Regions from separate parts of the Homo sapiens genome. Here all the other regions are linked to region 2. The links are contacts of gene promoters, found by promoter capture Hi-C in blood cells and fetal thymus (Javierre and others, 2016). All regions are on one chromosome and are shown on one strand. The core of a region is centred on a gene start or on the middle of the fragment in contact, and the rest is flanking DNA. Distances in the headings are between cores, read along the strand shown. Region 1 has its middle 23 kb from the start of REG4. Region 2 holds the start of HMGCS2 (3-hydroxy-3-methylglutaryl-CoA synthase 2). Region 3 has its middle 23 kb from the start of ADAM30.

Region 1 (2,999 bases), core at 324-2,823, 66 kb before region 2:
GGAGGAAAGGGTTACGACTTCTTGTAGTGACCATGATGTGTCCCAATCTTACCAACCTTGTGAAGGCACTTTCTTGGCACTAGTTGAACAGAAAGTTTGCTCTGCTCAGGATGTAGCCAGCGAACACTCCAATTCCAAAGGGGAAGAAACTCCACTTGGCTTCCCAGGTAGGCTTCCTATTCTTTGCATCCCACAACCTGTCTAGAATGACACATGTTTTTTGAATATTTTTGTGGATTGGGAGTGTCTTTGCTTCCTGGCAATCTTGTCATTGCTGGGTAATGTGAGAAAGATCAACAAAAAAGAAAATATCAAAGTGACTCCATTGGCTTCCCCTCACCCTTTGGGTGTCACTTTTCCTTACTTGATGTTCTTTGGGTAGAAGGAAAGTCACAGTAAGATCATCAATGCCAGTGGATCCCACTGTCTGTGGTTTTATTTTCAGAGCTGGGTTTAGAGCCTTCCCTTGCAATGAAGATCCCTCCCCAGCTGGAAGGTGATGCTCTTGAAGGTTCAGCTGACAACACACATGGGCATCAAGTCATTGGCCACATTCACGCCTCAAGTGTCCTAAAACCAAAAATGATCAAAAGAAAACTGCCGTTCAGCAAGTGGAGACTGGCATGCAGATTCTCTGGCCTGCAAGCTTAGAGTAGGAAGGTAATCACATCTATGGCTCTTAGCGGCCCTCACTCCTTATTTCTCTGTCTATGATGATAGCTCATTCTCCCACTGCTTTTCTCTTCCCTATTTGTGAGTATTGTCTGAGGCCTCTGCTACTTCTCATATCCTGGGTTCTTCCAATAGTCTGCTCTCCTGCATCTTCTCAAAAGACTGGGACATGGAGTTGTAAGGGGGTGGTTTTCTTTGCAAAGGGCCCTCTCCTTCTAAGCCCTCTGCTTCTGAGTGTGCATGGTTGATGCTGAGCACATCCTCCCTGGGAGGTGTGAAAAGCCATCACTCTGCTCCGGACAAAGGGGATCAGGAAGAAAGGGGCTGATGTCATCGGATGCTGGTTGGGCATAAGCAGGTCCTTCTATCTGCACTCCAGGCTGACTGGAAGTTCAGGGTTGTTTTCTTCTCACTTGTGGACGGCACTTGCCTCTTCAGCCAGCCGGAGGCTCAGGCTTCAGCTCATCCTCCCAGCAGAAGCTCAGTTTGCCCCTGGGCTATCACCACTTAGCAATCCCTCCAAACTCAGCCATCAGCAAGACCTGACATAGATGCTCTTTTCATTTTTCCTTTCCTCTCTCATACAGATACCAAATACTGCTGGAAGGATGAAAAGGATGAAAGGATGTCACAAAAAGTAGCTTTTCTGCTCGATGAAAAAAACTACAACAGCAAACCAAGTTCAATTCCAAACACAACACTGCAGGGCTCCTTCACTGAGGATTGAATTTTAGACACAGAATGCTCTTGATGATTGCAAACCACTAGGCTCCTTTGATTTGAGAAACCACAATTCATCCTATTTCCACTTGAGATGAATACCCAAGGAGACCAATTCCCAGATGGACAAACAGCATTGAGAGGCCTTAGCCCTGCTCCTCTCAATTCCATCCTGTAGAGAACAGGAGTCAGGAGCCGCTGGCAGGAGACAGCATGTCACCCGGGACTCTGCCAGTGCAGAATATGAACAATGCCATATTCTTGCGGAAAACACTTAGCCTGAGTTTCATAGGAAGTAATCAGCAGACAACTGCAGAATGTAGAACACTGAGCAGGACAACTGACCGCTCTCCTTCACACAATCCATGTCACCACAAATCACACAACAAAAAGAGAAGAGACATTTTGGGTTCAAAAGGATTGAAAAGATAATGTAGCTCACTTCTTTAGTCACTTTGAACCCAAAGTATCTCCTCATCTTTTTGTTGTTGTCATTGATGGTGGTGACATGGATTTGTTTGTAGAGGACGTCAGCTGTCTGGCTCAATTTTCTTCATTCTGAAGTTGTCAGAAAATTTCCTTATGATTAAATTCAGCCTAAATGTTTTGCCAGGAACACTGCAAAGTCAATGCTGTGAGTTTCCAACCTCAGTCCATCTGCGGGCAGAGAAGGTCCAGTTTGTCCATCACCATTATTGTGATATCAGGACTGGTTACCTGGTTAAGGAGGGGTCTAGGAGATCTGTCCCTTGTAAAGACACCTGATTTATAATTAATTTGAAAAGTGGTTTGAAAAAGTACAAATACCTGTATTCTAACAATCTTCCTCTGAGCATTTTATCATCAATTAATCACCCCTGGCTGTGTCAGTTATTATATTTATGTTTGTACGTTGGAAATTTTTATCTCAGTCCTTAGTATGAACTTGTTTCTGCTGGCATTCTGTTGTGAAAAAGAATATTCCCTGCCCAAATTTTAACTTTCATCCAAGATTAATTTTAGTCTATTAAAATTAAAATGTTTATGTTTTAAATCTGTTTAATTAAAATATTCTTGCCTATTACTCTGGACTAGTGAATTTTTTTTACACACAATGTTTTAAGCTTTTATTATTATGATTGTTTTTGGTGGGTAAGGATACAGATTAATAAAAACATTCTTATTTCCCTGTTTACATTCCAAACTCTTCCATATTTTAGTCTACATTTATCATATGTAGTAGTAGATGGTATTTACTACATTTCTTTGTCAATGTTATTTTGTTGTCTTTGTTTGTGTGTGTGTCTTTTGTTTGTTATTTAGGAAGGGTTGTGTAGCTCATGTTTGAAAGTGCACTAAACATGTTTTGGCATCATGTTTAAAAGTCCCCTTTTAACTTGACACACTTCTAATATTTGGTTTATACATTTTTAATCTTCTCTTTTGAATTTAAATTTTTACCACTATGACAACCAAAGATATTATTTTCCTCTTCTCTGACCTCTTAACCTGCCATTTCTTATGGTGTTAGTTCAACCCAAGCATATACCAGTGACCGCCTGTGTTTCCCACCTTGTCTCCACCTTGGCTTTTGGTTCAGATCCACAATTAAATATGCTGAGGCTCAT
Region 2 (2,700 bases), core at 9-2,508:
ACAAGAAGCAACAGGTATTTCAGAGAAGAGATTGGAAATGAAGAATTTCACTGACGACAGAACTTTGCAAAAGGCTGAGTGTAAGAGCAGGAGGTGACACAGCAAGGTAGGAGATTGAGTTAGAACACCAACACACCAAGATATATGGAGATAAGAATTTAAAGATAAGATGGAAGACCTAGATATCCTGGACTGCTGGGGGCACCTAGACATTCTCTGTCTGTAGGAACATGAAGTCAACTATATCCTCCTAAAGCAGGAACCACTCCAGCTCTTTTCTGTGTTCCCTACACACTCATATTAGACAGGGGGTTGGTGATGGGGATGACTGAATGAACTAAGGAGTGAATGCATGACTCACAAAAGGTAGAGGAAGATTGGTGCTGTGGGAGGAGTGGAGGGAGACATTCATTTGGAAAATCAGATGGCAGGAGCCTTTTTATTGAGTAGTAGAAGAGCAAAGCAGAAGGACCAGAATCTGGAGTCAAAAGACATGGTTGAGTTCTCATTCTGCAACTTCCTAGCTGCAGGTCTTTGGGAAAATGACTCCTTTATACATAACTCTGACCTCATCTATAAAGTAAACCTTTCCTCCTTAGGAGATTGAGCTTCAAACTGTCACCTCTTTGAGGCTCCTGTCCCTTTACTACAACACTAATTTCATCCCACTTGGAAATTGTGTAGAGCTGTACAAGTAAAAGGGTGGACAATAAACAGGAGAAATATAGTAGGTTCCACATACTCTAACGCCCAGCCCTTGGCCTATGTGCCAACACTCACTCCCAACTCCTTGAAAAGCTACTATTAAAAGAGTTTCCCTTTGGTTTAGAAAGATGTTTCTTATAATGCATAGCACATTAAAATAATAACAACTAACACCACAGAGAGGAGTGTGGAACACCCAGTGAGAGTAATACAGATAAGGAGCCAGGGTCTAAAACAAGACACATAGGGTTACCTTGGGATGTGATACAACAAGGAACATCATAACCTCCTGCTTAGGTAGCTGGGCAGAATCAAGGCTGCCACAGAGCCTGATGGAGTAGGAGGAACAATGCCCAGCCATTCCCACACATGCTCAGGAGCAGGGCAGCTATGTACATGTTGGAGAGATGCTGTTTGTCTTTGACTCGCCCGTGTTCTGAGTGAGCCCTTTGACCCAGTTTTAGAAGCAGACTGAGCCACGGTGAGCAGAGGCGGGGCTTAGGGAGGCAGGAGTCTTGGGGCTTTATAAAGTCCTGCCGGGCACCACTGGGCATCTCTTTCAAGGTTTCTGCTGGGTTTCTGAACTGCTGGGTTTCTGCTTGCTCCTCTGGAGATGCAGCGTCTGTTGACTCCAGTGAAGCGCATTCTGCAACTGACAAGAGCGGTGCAGGAAACCTCCCTCACACCTGCTCGCCTGCTCCCAGTAGCCCACCAAAGGTGAGTCACTTTCTGAGAAGCACCTTGTAACTAGTAAAAGATAGTTTTTCCCTGCTATTGGGGAAAACTCACTAGAATCCCACTCAAAATTTGGCAAGGCTTGTGCACAGCAGCCTTAGACAAGCAAGTTAACTTTAAAGGGTCTCAGTTACCTCATCTCTAAACAGACAATCCCTTTCAGCTGTAGAGTGAGAAGAGCCCAAACCTCTGACACATGCTGTGTTTGTGAGCAATGGCAACTTTTACTCTGCCAGCTGCATGAAGCAGTAGAAATATCAGTACCAGGCCACAGCTTTCCTCTCTACACCACCATTCCCACCTTCACCCCTAGCCTCTGCCTAGAACCACAGGACCTTGTGCCAACTGCAGTGTTAGTAAAACCAGTGACTTTATATCACTGCAGCAGAATCAGAAATGGACTGAGGATGAGAAGCTGTGTTTGCCTTGTGTTCCAATTTTATGAAAAGGGGAAATGTGTGTTTATGTGTGTATGTGTACATGCTCTTTGCAAGAAGAACATGCACACTCCTTTTCTTTGTAAATAGTCCCTGAACATGGCTCAAGTGCTTATGTTTTCCATTGTCAGCGATGATGGTAACACAGCTATCGTTAGTGCCTCAGGCTCCCAGCCACCTATGTGTTTCTGTCTAATCCCCAAACCATCCACTACACATTGGGACTAGTTCTTTATTTCCTTACATTTTTACTCTATATTCTATGACTACTAAATATTTAGAAAAATGATTTTGACCTAGTGTCTTTCCTTGCCAAATACCCAAGGAACCTGGGTGTATAGATGTGCATGGTAGAGGCAAATGCACATAGCTTTCTTATATTTTTCATTATGCTACCATCATCTCACTCTCCCCATGCACTGCCAAACCCTGCATGTGGGTTAAATGTCCCAGCTCAGGATTTAACCTGTTTCTATATTTGTGAAGAAGAGATTGATGTGGGTTTCTTGTTTTAATAGCAATAGTTGGCCATCAGCCAAAAGACATACATCAATCCTCCCCAACATTCTGACTCCCTTGGTTCAAACTCTTGGAATCATTCCCATTTCCCTTCTGGTATATTCACAGTTAATCCCATTATGCATGGCTTGAACTAATATTGCTTTTCATGAGTCACCTTTTCTCTATATGTCTAATCGCCTTTAATCCAACCCACATTGGCTCTAACTCCAACCTAAAAGAGACTTTCATCTCAGCATCTGCTTTGCTGTCTTCAAAATTCGGTAAGACTTGTGCCCTCCACTTACTGTATTTCTCACATATT
Region 3 (2,700 bases), core at 24-2,523, 100 kb before region 2:
ATTTCTCCCTAGTGAATTTTACTACTCTTAAAATAGGAATTAATTTTTTCTTTGTGTCTCTTACAGCATCTAGCATAATATACTTCATGTAGTAGTTGTTCAATAAATATGTTATTGAACCTACTTACAATCATTCCATGGAGGCTTAGAGAGCCATGAAGTTAAACTGGATCGTGCCTGTAACATAGCCAAGGCTACACCCTGAGTCATGGACTGCAGGGCAGGAAAGATCCTGCAGTCTCACCTCCTGCATGTGGGGCTAGACTATCCACTTGTCCCTGTTTCCACCAACAGCGCCACTAATCAACTCTGGGACATCTGGGGCAAGGGTGCTTCCAGTTAGCACTGTGGCAGTCTGCCCAACTGATAGGAAACTGAATTTGGGGTGAGGAGGTAGAATTCAGAGAACAGGCTTACTGTAGAGTCCTCACAATCAAGTTGACAGCAGATAAATTGAAATATGAGACACATTTTCCCATTCCTCCATGCAGAATATAAGTGAGAATACCTGTCCAGTCCCAGATTTAAGTATTTTCCTCTCTCAATCAAAAAGCTCCATCCCTACAGTCTTAAAAAAAAATAGAAAGATGGTTGTGAGAAAAGCCTCATTCTAGAGAATAACTCTTCACCAGCTAGAGGCTGGACTGAAACAGGAACATCTAGCTCAAAATAAAAGCACCATGATGAAAATCTCCATTCCCAGACACAAGGAGCTCATGCACCACCTCTGGCAAATGTACTTGTCAACTCATGCCAAACATTTTTACTGAACTGGGAGCACTGACAGCAATGGAAACCTCCCCCAGCTCTTGAGGCTCATCATGCTGTAAAAGAGAGCTGAGAGAAAGTGTGGTCAGTTTTCTTTGACTCATATCCACCTAACCTCCATTGTTCACTTCTGCTTCATGTCCCAGAGCACTATTCCAAGCCCACACTGAAATTACATTTCTGGATTAATAACAAGCACAAGAAAATAAATCACATCTGCCCCAGGCGTGAACCCAAAACCAAAAGCAGCCACAGAGAAGAATTTGTGAGCTGAGCTTAGGGTCAACTTTAATTCTGAAGGAAATGAACCTTTTTTTAAAAATCAAATAACAATCTATGTAGACAAAACATTTATCTACACTGCTCTAATTAGTTTTGGGGTCTTTAAAACCTCTTTCTTTCTCGTGTAGATATCTACCAGAGCAGAAATTCTGTGATAAGATGGCCTGAGGCCAAATACAGTTTAATAAAGTGCTTCATCTTTATCCAACCCTCAGGACTATTTTCATTTCCTAAAGGAACATCCAGGTATCCAGGCATATCTCTAGAACATCATCTCACTGGGGCTTATAAACCACCTGCCCTTTCTGTCAGGACATTTCCCTGTGCCATCAAGTTCAAGTAAAAGGCTGCAGTGCGGTCACTGCACCATTGCTGCCAGCTTCTATTTTTTATTTTGTTGTTGCTCTGTGTGTGTGTGTGTGTGTGTGTGTGTGTGTGTGCATAGGCATGCATGCAAGCATGCTTCCACATGTTTCCATCAGGAATGATCTTTCGGGAGAACATAAGAAGTGCATGTGGGAATCTCATGCTATGTCTTGCAGGCTCTGTCTCATCTCTGTTGTCCATTCTCTCCAAATTTTCTGGACTCTGTTGGAGATTACCAACCCTTGCTTCTGCCTTTAGACATCCTGTCTAAATGCCTCTAAGACACCTGGAACACTCTGACAACCCTGTCCTTAAGGAACTCTATCCTCTGGGCTCACAAAATACCTGCAGGTAACTGGGCTGTGCTGTGCTGTGCCAGTTTCCACACTCTCTGCTTTGAGAGGTCCCAGGAGTCAGGACAATCCTTTCCCCCCGGAAAGCACTTGGCACCACAGTCCCAGGCTTTAGAATACAAAGGGCTCCAGGCTCCTCTGAAGCACTGCTGTTGCTCTGGGACATTAGGTATGGCTTGTGGTTGCCAGCACCATCTCTGCACAGAGGGCCTCCTAGAGTCCTGGTGACATCGCTGGCCTGGCTGGGACCAGGGTTACCTCCTATCCTTTCCCTGTGTGTCATATGGACATAATAGTACCCACAGCTCAGTATGCTGTGCCGACTGAAATAACCCAAATGCACACTTAGCACAGTATGGTTCCTGGTAAAAGCTCTGCTAATATTAGTTATTAGGATATGTACTGACAAGAAATAATATTTTTTCTTTAATTGTGTAATGCAATATACAGAAGTTGAATAAAACATAGGTATAAATTCTTGCATATGTTAACATGCAAGCACTAGCTAGGACTAAATACTAGCTTCCCACATGCCCCTTCCTCACCACAGCACCCCTCATATCCTTAGCAATGACCATTACCTGATTTTCACGATGTTTGGTTCTTTATAATTTTCTGCTTCTCATGCCCGCCCTCCTGATGGGTCTAGGTTTTAACCTGTGATCATACACGTGTATTCTCTTATGCCTGGGTTTTTTTTTAACTAAATGTTGTGGATTTAACAGTCATCACTGATTCACCCACTTTCGTTGCTAGTGAAATATACCATAATCTGTTTATGCACATGCTTGATGATGGGCATCTGGGCTGTTTCCAGTTTGTGGCTGTTAGGCACAGTGTGGCTGTGGTCATTCATGTAATGGTGTCCGGGGGCATGGGAGCACCAATGCCTCTGGGTTACACACAAGGAATGGAATTCCAGGCCCTGTGT

The links. The method cuts DNA at HindIII sites, captures the fragments that hold promoters and counts their contacts. A CHiCAGO score of 5 or more calls a contact.
Region 1: a contact is called between a fragment that was not itself captured here and the fragment with the promoter of HMGCS2 in region 2, in 2 of 17 cell types (M0 macrophages and M1 macrophages). The highest score is 5.3, in M0 macrophages.
Region 3: a contact is called between a fragment that was not itself captured here and the fragment with the promoter of HMGCS2 in region 2, in 1 of 17 cell types (M0 macrophages). The highest score is 5.2, in M0 macrophages.

What each region holds. Positions count from the first base shown.
Region 1 is chr1:119,833,165-119,836,163 of GRCh38, reverse strand. It overlaps the pseudogene NBPF7P. Among named protein-coding and RNA genes, the nearest start is that of REG4, 23 kb to the right of the region's middle. The HindIII fragment of the contact is 1,849 bases long and covers 649-2,497 here.
Region 2 is chr1:119,767,463-119,770,162 of GRCh38, reverse strand. It overlaps HMGCS2 (3-hydroxy-3-methylglutaryl-CoA synthase 2), which reads left to right and starts at 1,258. Exons shown (of 10, transcript NM_005518.4): 1 at 1,258-1,422. The coding sequence starts at 1,319. RefSeq lists a silencer at 1,383-1,677. The HindIII fragment of the contact is 4,165 bases long and covers 1-2,700 here.
Region 3 is chr1:119,871,980-119,874,679 of GRCh38, reverse strand. No RefSeq gene overlaps it. Among named protein-coding and RNA genes, the nearest start is that of ADAM30, 23 kb to the left of the region's middle. The HindIII fragment of the contact is 6,436 bases long and covers 1-2,700 here.